Regions from separate parts of the Homo sapiens genome. Here region 2 is linked to region 1. Evidence: promoter capture Hi-C in 16 types of primary human blood cells and fetal thymus (Javierre and others, 2016). All regions are on one chromosome and are shown on one strand. The core of a region is centred on a gene start or on the middle of the fragment in contact, and the rest is flanking DNA. Distances in the headings are between cores, read along the strand shown.

Region 1 (6,134 bases), core at 2,010-4,509:
CCACCTGCCAAATCTATGCTTCTTTCTGGCCCACTGCTCCAGCAAGATGAAGGCGCTTCTTGGCCCCTCTGAAAACACTTGCACATCTCAACAGGAAAAACAGGCATCGAACACCAGAACTAAAACCATGTTAAAGTAAAACCTCAATCAATTAGTATTATAATGACAATAGGCATGATTTTTTAGGTTAGAATAAACATACTTGATTTCTAGAATTACAGAATATGTTCTTGAGTATGTAGAAGGGTTATTTTTCATATGGTGTTATAAATTCATAGAATATGAGAACTGCAAGAATCATAATTTTACACATGAGAAAAGAGAAAAAGAAGCTCTGACACCCGACACCCTAAGAGGGGCAATAACTGGCCAAACAGCTCATAATGCATGTATATCTACCCCACAAAACTTATATTTAGCCACAGAATAGAAGGAATCCAGGACCCTGATCTTAGCTTGACTTTGAAGAATCCTTGAATATCTCCCATAATTTGAAAATGAATTGTTATGACAGCCTGCTAGCTTCTGTAGAGACATGAAAGGGATACAAATAATGGTTAATTTTTACTAGATGCTTACCAGATGACAGGGCCTATGCTAAGTACCTAATATATTAAGTTGAATTGTTTGAAACTTCTAATATCTGATATTCGATCTGCCAAATAATTTCAAAAAGTTCAGCCTAAAGACATTATACCTCTGAGTCTTTGCCATCTTCCTATGAAATGGGTACTATTATCACACCCATTTTACAGATTGAAAATGAAGCCTTTAATTTAAAAATGAAAATGTTCTTCCCATAAGTGTAATGTTATTTACTTATGAGTAATATTAATGCAGCCTTGTGTGCAAATTGGTGGCCTGAAACCATGTAGTATACCTAAGACATGAACAATAATAATTCACATATATTACCTTTTTCAGGGAACTTGGATAAATTTCTAATTAATAAACTTCTATAATAATTAAATAATTAAAGAAATACTTTTAAAATGTTATTTATAAGAGTAAAAAAGGCATTAGAAAACAAGAAATTTGATGTTTGGACATGTATTCTCTATATCTCACATGGAAGAATTAGAAACTGTAGCCTAGGGCTCCCCAGAATGAAGTAATTGTCTTGAAATTTTCCATAATGCTCAGATAAAGAAGTAGGGTGATTTTACAACCTTGTCTACATGCAAATTATGACCAATAATATTCTGAATTAAGGCCATCTGGTTTTGTGATTACTTACAAATAATATTGAGCTGAATTCACAATCAGTTCACAAATAGCAGTTGGGCTAAGGAATTATTAATACTAACTAAATGAGATGATACTATGTTGAATCAGAAAAACGAACTGGTGAAAACTGCAAAATGGACTTTGAAAAAAATATTTAAAGGTACATGACTGTTCTTTCAATATGAAACAAAAACTTTAAATGTTCCATTCACAAAAAAGCATTGAGTAATGCCATGCGATTTATTAGCTCTACATGATAAATCCCCCAAGTTCACAAACTGGGCTCCTGGCCACCTAGCAAAGAGGACTTGCACGTAATTCCATGTGTTTTCTGATTGACTGGTAAATTGTTATCAGTAAGAGTCTGATAATAAGACAAGCAATTCTTTTCACTTCTAAAGAGGCAGAGCTATTTCGCCTGCAACTTTTTTGTTTTCTGTATTTTTTTAATTCACAAAAGACATGCAACACCTGCAACTTTAAAAAGTGAGGCATCCATAGGCTCTATACCCAGCCTGACCTCCTCTGGAGCTCCATCTCATGAAGTGCTTTAAACCCTGGCACACCAAAGAATCCCAAACTCATGCCACCACCTACTAAGTCAGACTCCAACAAAGAACTGGAGCACTTTTGTTTCTAAGTGACCATCAGGCACCTAATATTATTTTCCCTTCAGTAAAATATAAGTGATAATCCTTGTCCTACCCCACTAATGATGTAAAAATAATATAACCATACAGTAAGAAATCAAACATGCTTTGAAAAATTGCAGCATAGGGCTAAACAAGAGCCACTGCATAAAGCAAAGAAGTTTTGAAGAAGAAAGGGATCTTGAAGGTTGTTATTTCCAGTTTTTTCATTTTATGAAGAAAGAACCTGAAACAGGAGGTAGACATTTGCCCAGACTGGATCACCTACTGAGAAGTAGAGTTTGGTCTCCTGACCCTTTGTCCAATGCTTTTTCTACCAAACTACATTATTAGGATTATTCCTGTTGCTTTTGTTATTAGTGATGTTAAGAAGCACAAGACTATTTTTAGATAAAGAGATAGACTGACCTAGCAAAGCAGCCATACTCCTTCTGGGTAAGAACCGCTGGTCTGCACTGCAGAAACTTTGTTCTTAATAACCCTGGTGTCCTAAGAAGTCTATCAAGAGATGAAGAGGTTTGCCATTGTGCCTTACAACTTTTAGATAATTAAATGCCTGGGAAATCTTATTTCAAGATCAGGCTAGCGACGAGTATTGAGACAAACAGAGTTATTCATGAAAACGTTAACACTGAACCCAAAACTTAACCATTCTAAACACCAGTTTCTTCCACTAAAAAATAAGAAAGCTGGGGTAGATCATCCCATTGAATGCTAGTGTTGTATTAATCTATGTTTCATTAAATTTAGTATGTTTCATTAAATTTAGTATGTTTCATAGAAAGTTCAAGTTTTATCGAATCATAATACTTGCTACCTAAAATGTTATTCATAATTTAAAAACCAAACATAACCTTGCAGGGGGAAAAAGCTGATGAATGTTAAATTTACAGTTTTTAGAACTGAAATCACCTAGCACCACCATTTCACCTCTTGACTGCTCTCTGCATTCTCCTCTGATTACTTTTACTGTACTTTTTATGTTGTTACAATAAGCATGTTTGTGTTTCCTGTGCTCTATTTTATGCTATGTATATATTTTTGCATTAGCCCAGTCCAAACATAAAATGCTATGCGAAAAAAGACAAATGAAACTGCTCACATACCCCATGACGATCTTCAAAGTATGCCAGGCTGGCTTTGGTTAACACAAAGAAGCGGACTTTAAAGTTCGAGGGAGAAGTTCTTCTCTTTTGTTGGGATTTCTTGATGAGCTGTTCTTCCAGGAGGATAAAGTTGTTCATGATCCAGTTCTTGAAAGGTGGTGCACCTTGGGCATCACCTCTTAGCACAACCAAAGGAAAGAGTTTTGGGGCAAAGAATGCAATGTGGAGGCAGTTGATCTTCAGAGAGCTGCTCAAGGGCAACTTGCCTTCAACGTTATCTTTCTATCAACGTTCAGCCAACATAGCTGAGCTTCTCCTCTGATGTCAAAGGCCGAAACCACATCCTTTCAAAATTCACAAAACGAGGAGGCATATGTAAAAAATACATACAGCCTTTGCTAATGGCTTGAAATGATATTTGAAAAACTGTAAACTCAAAATTGTGGTAAGGATTACAGTTTAATCTTTATAGTTCCTGGTTTAATCCATCCAGCAGTTAAATCATGTAGCACAAGGAGTAAGGACAATGTGTGGTTTTGCTTACCATGATATACTCAGCAACCATCACAGTACCTGACACATAAAACAGATGTTCAAGAAAAATTTGTTGAATGGATCATCACCAAATTGGGTTGGACAATTAAAAGAGGTAATGAGCACAAAACCCTCACACATTAAAGTGAAGAAATATGTTGCTGAAGTTTATTAGTTTTTAAGATTTAAATTAAAGCCCATAGAAATTTCTCAATGCTACATATAGATGACTGCCTTTCTGTCCTGACGTTTTGTGGAAGAGTGAAAAATAAGTGAATCCTTCAGAATGGCATAATAAACAAAGTATATGTGGGCTTTGAAAACAGACAAACTTGTGTTGGATTCCCAGCTCTGTCACTTACTATGCTGTTTCTCTTTGAGCAAGCCATGACTTCTCTGATCCTTAGCTTCCTTGTGAGGGTCCTTTGGAGGACTGAATCCCATACATCTTATGAATGGTAGGTGCTAGTCATACATGTCACCTTAGAGTTAGTACATAGTTGAAGTATAATGTGTGACAGTTACCTCTACTATGTTAATAATCAAGAGATTTTAGTGTAAGCAGATATTGCATGTAGTGGGTAGGGATAAATAATAAATGAAATAATAATTATTGCTGTATAGGAGTGAAATTCTCCAATGTTTATTTTTAAATGTAAATTACCAGACAACAGCCTAATTTTATTTCATATACTGGATGCCCCAGCATAATCAAGACACCCAGGAGGGTACGGTACTGGTATATTTTAAATTACCTCCCCCATTCTGAGATTCTTAAGACATATGTGTGGAAATACACTGCCCAAACAAGATAGTATTTTTTTTTTCTGAGTATGGGCTTGAGGTAGGGATTGCTACTATTCCCAAATAGCTACTCTCTCCTTCTTACTAGAGTAACAGAATCCCTGACAGTTATCTGGGCATCTGGCCAGCAAGAATAAAGACTACAAATTTTAGCCTCCCTTGTAGCTAGGTGTAGTTGTATGACTGTCTTCTGGTCAACTGAATGTAGCAGAAGTCGTGTGCACAACTTCTAGGAAATTTCCTTAGTGGGATCTGTCATCCCCTTTTCTTTCCCTTTTCCTCCTGCCTTGTGACTAGAATATTGAGGTAACAGTTGGAGCTGAAGCAGCTATCTAGTATCATGAGGTGGAAATTGAATGTTGAGGACAATGGAGTATAAGATAGAAAGAGCCTGGGACCCTGGTGACCATGGATCTTCCATGCCAGCCCTGGATTACATTTTTTAATATCTATTTTCTAAGTCTCAGTTATTTTGAGGTTTCTGTCACTACCAGCAAACCTAGATAATACAGTGCTATCTTCTCAAACTAGACTACAAACTCCTCTGAGGAAAGTACATTTTACACCTGCTTGGTTCAGATGAAAAGAGTTATAGACTTCACAAAGTGTTCTCATCCGGGAAAACAAAATATCATCAGTAGCTGTTGCAATACTTAGGAGTCTTTCGTTTGCTCAGTCTACATGGAGTGTCATCGTAAGTAATTTTATTCTCTTTCTCATAGAGCCATCAAACCCACTAACTGAGACTCATCTTTGCCAACTTTTAAATGCAAACTTAGGAGGCTCAATATTTTTTTCTCACTTTAAGGAAAACATAAACAAAAACAAATAGTCCCTTTGTTTGTTTTGGTTTTAAAAAGTTCACTTCATAGGAGCCAAATTCAAGGAGTTCCCACTTGCCAAAGATGGAACAATTTGAGTATCAAAAGGAATAATAATTGCCATGAATTGAAGAACAGCAAAAATGTTAAAACAATGAGTTCAAAAGAGAATTGAAAAAAGCATCCCAACCTTTTGATCACTTTTGGAGGATGCTGAAGAACCAACTTGTTTTTCTGAAAACTGGAAACAAAGGAAAAAAATAAAACATATTGCTTGCTTTTCTTGAAGAATTATCTTTCAATTCAGTGATCAAGTATTTAATGAGGAAGTTCTTTTTTTCCAAGAAACTAATCAATGAAGGAGTGACAGAATACTATCGTTTTGCAATGCCAATGAAATAATAAATGTAGGCAATGATCATCAATGGCTGTTAAAATTATTACGCAAAAAGCCAATAGGAAAATGTATAACTGTCATATGAAGCTGACAACACTGTAACACACTGATTAATCTTAAAAGAAGGACAACCAGACATTGTATGTCTCCTGAGGTGAAGCAAGAGGAAGTACACAAAACTGGCAACTCGGGAGTCTTGCCAAGAGAAAACAAAATCAAACACAAATCTAATCAAACTTCGAGATATAAATTCGAGTTTACAGGAAATACAAGAGATAAACGAACCTGACAAATGACACTGTGGAGATGCAATTGGATGAGTCCAGAATACAAAACATGCTAAGGACAAATGACTCAGTATCAGTAACAAATAAGTCATAGAGGGCAGGGCACGGTGGCTCATGCCTGTAAGCCCAGCACTTTGGGAGGTCAAGGGGGTGGATTGCTTGAGCCCAGGAGCTTAAGACCAGCCTGAACAACATGGTGAAACCCTTTTTCTACAAAAAATTAGCCAGGCATGGTGGCACACACCTGTAGTCCCGCCTACTCGGGAGGCTGAAGTGGGAGGATCACTTGAGCCCAGTGGGTGGAGGTT
Region 2 (6,676 bases), core at 1,648-4,147, 110 kb before region 1:
ACACTATCACTCTCCAACCTAACCCCTCCTTCCGACTGCTCTGTTGGTGTCTTGACCTGGTCTTCCTGGGAACTCAGTCAGTGCAGTCCCAGGTGACTGCTAAGCCAGTGTCCCTCACATCCATATCCTCTTAGCTGTACCCCAGTGCCATCACCCTCATTCAGCCTTGAATGCCTGCAGTGTAGATAACTTTAATTATCTTGACTAATTTATTTGCCTCATTCCTACTTGCAACTCATTCTACATATGACTAACACATGGAATCTGTCCCCCAAGCTGCGTTCTGTTCATATCTCTTTTAAGGATAAAGATTTTTCCATTGTTTTTAATTTTTTATTAAATAAACTAAAGCCTTCTGTTATGGGCTGAATTGTGTGCCCCCCAAATTTATAGGTTGAAGCCCTAACCCCACAGGACCTCAGAATGTGACTGTATTTGGAGACGGGGCCTTTAAAGAGGTAATTAAGTTAAAATGAGGCCATTAGAGAGGGCCCTGATCTAATCTGACTGGTGTCCTTATAAAAAGAGGAAATCTGGACACACAGAAAGAAGGTGCCAGAGATGTGTGCACACAGAGAAGAGACCATGTGAGGATGCAGAGAGAAACAGCCATCTGGGAGCCAAGGAAAAAAGTCTGAGGAAAAACCGAACCTACAGACACCTTGATCTTGGACTTCTAATCTCCGGAACGGGGAGGAAATACATTTTTGCTGTTTAAGCCATTTAGTCTGTGGCACTTTGTTAAGGTATCCAAGCCAACGAATACACCCTCTATGCCCCGACCCTTTATTTGTAGGGAATCTGTAAACAATATCCCTATATGCACTTTACAGTCCATACCAGTCACTCCTCGAAAATCCTTGCCCTGTGCCTTTGCTCACACCAGCTCTTCCACATGGTGTGCTCTCCCCGTCTCATCTCTGACTGGTAAAATTCTAACTGTGTGAGACAGCACGGAACAGGAGAAAGAGATCAGGACTGGCAATCAGTCCTGGATTTCAGGTCCAGTCCTGTGATTTACTGGTTGTGGGATCATGAGCAACCTGCTTATTAACTTTTCTAGGCCTCAGTTTTCTCATCCCTAAAATGGATATAATGATCCCTTTGCAAGTCACAGGGCTGTTATAAAGCTCCAATAATATAATATATGAAAATGCCTTACATATATTTTAAAGTATACTGTATCTACAAGGTATCATTATCCTCCTACAAGGCCTCACACAAAAGCCACTTCCTACATCAAGCTTTCTCTGACTCTCTCAAGGTTCCTTCAAAAACACAGAACTTTGAACTTTTACCATGACATTTACCCTTAACTTCGTGTATTTTTGTTTGTCTGCAAGGCATAGTCTGGAGCAAAGGTTTTGTAGTCAGGCAGACCTTGATCTAGAGCTGTCACTTGTCAGCTGCAGGACCCTGAGTAAGTTATGCAATTTTTTTGGGCTCCAGTTTTCCCCATCGGCAAAATGGATATGATAATAGAACCTACCTCACAGGGTTGATGTCAGGAGCAAATGAGACAATGCATCTAAAATATCTGTATAGAAAAAGCATTCGATAAATGGTAAGCTTATCTATTTCCCACTTGACTCACTGAGGATCAGGACTGGCCCCTATCTGCCCTTGCATACCTCTCCAGCATTTACACAGTCCTCTGAGGGCACCAGCCACACAATACTTATTGAATGAATGAGCAGGGTTTGTCAACACAAGGTTACGGGAGATAACCAATACAGTGCTGTGGTTGGAGTGTGTTCCCCAAAGTTCATGTGTTAGAAACTTAAATCTCCAGTGCAACAGTGTTGAGAGGTGGGATCTTTAACAGGTGATCAGGTCATGAGGGCTCTACCCCCATGAAAGAATTAATGCTGTTATTATGGGGGTGGGTTCCTCATAAAGGATGAGTTTGGACCCCTTCCCTTTCTCTGCCACCCATGTCATGGCTTCTGCCATGATATGATACAGTAAGAAGGCTCTCACCAGATACTGCCCCCTCAATCTTGGACTTTCCAGCCTCCATAATCATAAGCCAATAAGCCACTACTCTTATTTTTTTGAGATAGGGTCTTGCTCTGTTGCCCAGGCTGGAATGCAGTGATACGATCATGGCTCACTGCAGCCTCAACCTCCTGGGCTCAAGCAATCCTCCCACCTGAGCCTCCCACGTAGCTGCGACTATAGGTGTGTGCCACCTCACCCGGCTAATTTTTAAAATTTTTGTAGAGACAGGGTCTTGCCATGTTGCCCAGGCTGGTCTTGAACTCCTGGGCTCAAGGGATCTTCCTACCTCAGCCTCCCAAAGTGCTGGGGTTATGGGCATGAGCTACCATACTCAGCCTAAACTTCTATTTATTATAAATTATCCAGTCTGCAGTTTCCTTGTTATAGCATCACAAAACGAGCTAAGACATATAGTGTCAAAGGTCTATGGAGCCACAGGCAGGGTTTATGGAACCACAGGCAGGGTCTATGAACATGGAATTTGGAATTCTTTAAATTGCAGTGCTGCATGAGAATAAAATCAATGGAAGCCCAACAGAGAAGGGGAGGAGCCCTCCACAGATGAATCAGACTCTAAGAGAGAAAATAATAACTGGCCCTATTTGCAAATGATTTAGGCCATCAGCTTTTTTGAGTAACTGTTATTCCAAAACCAAAGCCAATGTCCCTTTTTCAAGGAACCTTTTGCTCTGCTCAAGAGACAAAATTCCACACATTCATTAACCTATAAACAAGGCAAGATCCAATCACATGTTAACCCAAAAAGCTATAGGAGCTCAAGAAAGTGAGTAGTGGAGACTAAGTTGGGCCCTAACAGTTGAGTAGGATTCCCAAAGCTGGACAATAAAGGGGAACTGTATGTTTCTAGGCACCGACAGGGGATGGCGCAGAATGTAAGAGTGGGCTTAAGCAGATGATTCTGACTGAGGCAGGGGGTTCTTAGAGTAGCTGAGCACATGCCTCTGGTGTGAGAAGCTGCCCGCGGCCCCTGCCAGCCCAGCAGGGAGCATGTCTGCACACGTGGGTCACAGAGACTTACCATGCTGGAGTGGACTGTAGCCTGCTCAATGTACCTTGCAATGCCCGTGACAAATGCATTCCTGTCCTCAAAGTTTGTGTCAAAGTTAGCCTGTGGAATTAGAGGACAGGAACATTTTGGTTGTTAGAAAACAGTTCCAAGTTGGCTGGGTGTCCAGAGGGCAAACTGCTGCCAACAAACAACGCAAGCTCTCTGTGGAAACCTCCTGCTGCGTCACCTTTCATCTTGCCCCTTCCCCACAAAGTCCCACTCTCAATCACACTGGGCAGGAGCTGGTGATGACAGGGTCTGCCGTCTGCTTCCCATCAGTAATCAGGTTCACTCATCTGAGCTTCAGAAGCAGATGCTTAAACTCCACAAGCCCAAATAGCTGCTAAAAGTTAAGATGTGCATTGCTTTGATTCGGCAGTTCCAGAAATACTCACCCAAGGGTGTGGATATATAGGTACAAGAATAATTACTGTGGCTGTTTTTTGTGATTAAAACAAACTGTAAACAACCTACATATCCATCAACAGTGAAAGGCTAAATATATATATATATATATATATATATACATAAAATAGCATATCCATAAATGGACTTTTAAGTACCATGAGGTGGCTAAGCCTAATGTGGTAGTATTGTGGTATTGTCATGGAAAAATATCCATAATAAATTTTAAGTTAAAAAGCCAACTCACAAAGCAATAAATATAGTATGGTTCTCTATTGGTTAAAAAAAAAATATATGTATATATATATGCATATATATACACACACACATATATATGTATATTTGGTAAAAAAGGTATATATCCGCATAGTTATAGAAAAAATTTATATGTTTTTGTATACTTTTTTGTATACTTTTCTGTATTGCTTATAATAAAAAAGATATTTGTATAATTAAAATTTTAATCTGGGTTAGAAGATGTGAATCAATGAAGTTTATGGGCCGAACCTTCAAGCATGTACTTCATACATCTACTGAATGAAATTTAAGAATTTATTATGTATTTATATTTAGTCTCCTGTAGCAATCTGAGAACTATCAAAAGGTCAAACACAGCTAAGACTTTCAAATTAGCATATCCTTTCTTAACATGGCATCTGGCCTGGCACACCCAGACAAGGGGCTATACCGACTCCCGGCCCTGATAGGTCATAGTTTGGAACAATCTGATGGTGGTTTATCACAAGCTTTGCTCTCTTAGGCAAAAGCAAACAACTGTGACCAGCTTCCCTGAGCCATGAGCTGCTATGAGGTGTTGTAGTGCCCTCCTCACATGCATGAAGGAAAAGTAATTACCCAGGCAGGCTCTGGGGTTTCTAAATTGCAATATTTAATTCATGAGGCCAGAGCTGCCAAAACCTTGGTTGGTACAGCAGCAAGAATAGCCTGGAAGGTATTTGGGGTCAAAGCAGATCAACAAGACTTCCCTGGGGGAGGGAGGGAAACAGTCCTGCGGCACATTTAGTAGCTAATCTGTTCCTTATACTCGGCTCTACCAGCGCACAAGGGACTCCATCAGCTCACAACCTTTCACCTTCTAGATGCAGACCTCCCCTTCCCTCTGCCTTAGGGCAAACTCTCTTAGGGGATCCCCAGAATTCCTGGGCCCCCTGGTGCTATCTACCATTTCCATTACCTGGTACATGATGGAGGAAGGTGGAGGCTCGATGCATGGCTGCTGGTCGGGGAGGGGAAGCTCTTCAAGCAGGTCCACGTTGGACAGGGCATCTTCCAGGGTGACGTGCGTGGTCATGGCTGCAGTTTCTGTATTCTGCACTGAAGGGAAGGAAGAGAAGGTCAGTGGAGAATTTCAGGGGCCTCTAAAATTCCTCTTAACCGCACCATGACCAGCATCCTTTGGGAGAATAAAGAGAGTTAAAATGCATTGAGGCCACTTCCACTCACCACTTCTTCCCAAGGTGCTCTCGATGTGTATCTTTTACATCTCAGGATCTCTTTATGGCTAACAAGGTATTTTGTGTGCACTTGGTTGAGCCTCACCACCACCCTCTGTGATCAACATGGAAGGTGGTACCCTATCCATATAACTGATGAAAAATCAAGGCTCAGAGAAATTATGTGATGCCCACACAGTCACGTGACCACAAGCGAGGGACCTCAAGTGGGATGTGAGAACATAGGTCATGGTTAGTTTCTCCACCTTTTGTTCTTCATAAGGATATTTATGAGTTCCACTCTTAAATTACCATGCAATACAATTATCCAGGATCGTGACAGCCAAGATAATCAACTGAAAACCAGAGCCCGGGTTTTTAGGCTAATTAAACTGGGATTAAAATAACTCAATTCCTGCAAATCAACCTTCTTTGCAAAGATGGAGGAGCCACTGTCTTCCTTGACCTGGGTATGTTTTGTGAGCCACATCAAACAAATCAGCCCTAAATGGATATTTCTGTGTCTTAGACCCTGGCACAGCGCAGCTGCTTTGATAGTATGTTTGGCAGGATTAGAAGCTGAAGAGAATCTGAACAGCACAGTTACCCAACTAGAGCTAATTCCTATTTTAAGAACTCAGCACCCAGCAAACAGAATACTCATTTTTCCCCCCAAACATATGTGAAACACTGCTTAAAAACTAATCATGATTTAGGCTATAAATCAGGTTCCCCCAAGTTTCTTCAAAAATGATGGCCTACAAGTCACATTCACTTATTATTAAATATAATTCAAGGAAATTAGAAATCAATAATGCAAATTGTAGCAATAAAATCCCATACCTTTGAAAATTTATAAAACATACTTCAAGGTCATTCATAACTAAAGAGGAATTCAAATAGAAATGATAAGATCTTTAGAAATGAAAGATGGAAAGCACTAATACATGTCTTCAACACATTTAGCTGAAAGAAAAGTGGAACTAAATGAAGTTAATGTTACACTCAAAAACCTTAAGAGAACAAAAATCAGCCCAGAGAAATGAGAACAGAGGGATTGAGAGTTACAAAGGCAGACATAAAGCAAAAAGCAAAGCAAAATAAAACGTTAACAGTAGAGGTGAACAAAAACACTAAAAGCTGAGTTTCAGAAAAATATTATTAATAATAATAAAGCCAACCCTAAACACACGATTAAGAGGGACACAAAGAGAAGGGCCACTGTGCTTGTCTGAGAATCCCTTCCTAACCACCTTCGATCCCAGGGAGTTGTGAGATCCTGGGGCTGGGATTTCTGCTGTGAATGTCAGTGAGTTTGCTTTGCTTGTTAGGAAATACAGTGTCTAACATTAGGGGGGAAAAGGACCATCAACACAAGAATTTGGTCCACGGGCTGCCAAGGACTAAAACAACTGCAGAATATACCTAAGGTCCTGCTGCCCCGAGACTAATACCTGCCTTAGGCCCAAGGCTGGGAGGGCAGACTGGGGCTGAGCCTTCACTGGCTGCTGTGCAGCTAACTAGATTCACATTTCACTGAGTTCTCAAACACACCTTCCCATCACGTACCATGACAACAGCAAATGCTGCATCCAGTGAGGGCTCACTGAGCCCAGAGGTAACTTCCTCATCTGCCCTCTGCAGAAGGCTGGTCTCCTATGGTGGTTTCAGGTCCTCTCCACACCTAAGCTTCTTCCTCTTCTCTCCCCCACAATTCTAAGTGTGGCATTCAGTTCTACAGCAAAAC

The links. Contacts are between HindIII fragments. The CHiCAGO score rates a contact against its expected background, and 5 or more counts as called.
Region 2: a fragment that was not itself captured here is called in contact with the fragment with the promoter of ITK in region 1 in 8 of 17 cell types (non-activated CD4 T cells, activated CD4 T cells, naive CD8 T cells and 5 more); the score reaches 23.5 in non-activated CD4 T cells.

What each region holds. Positions count from the first base shown.
Region 1 is chr5:157,177,965-157,184,098 of GRCh38, reverse strand. It overlaps ITK (IL2 inducible T cell kinase), which reads right to left and starts at 3,259. Exons shown (of 17, transcript NM_005546.4): 1 at 2,984-3,259. The coding sequence starts at 3,121. The HindIII fragment of the contact is 39,229 bases long and covers 1-6,134 here.
Region 2 is chr5:157,283,473-157,290,148 of GRCh38, reverse strand. It overlaps CYFIP2 (cytoplasmic FMR1 interacting protein 2), which reads right to left. Exons shown (of 31, transcript NM_001037333.3): 2 at 4,671-4,810; 3 at 3,041-3,130. The coding sequence starts at 4,787. Among named protein-coding and RNA genes, the nearest start is that of CYFIP2, 21 kb to the right of the region's middle. RefSeq lists enhancers at 2,509-3,009, 3,010-3,510. The HindIII fragment of the contact is 2,652 bases long and covers 1,572-4,223 here.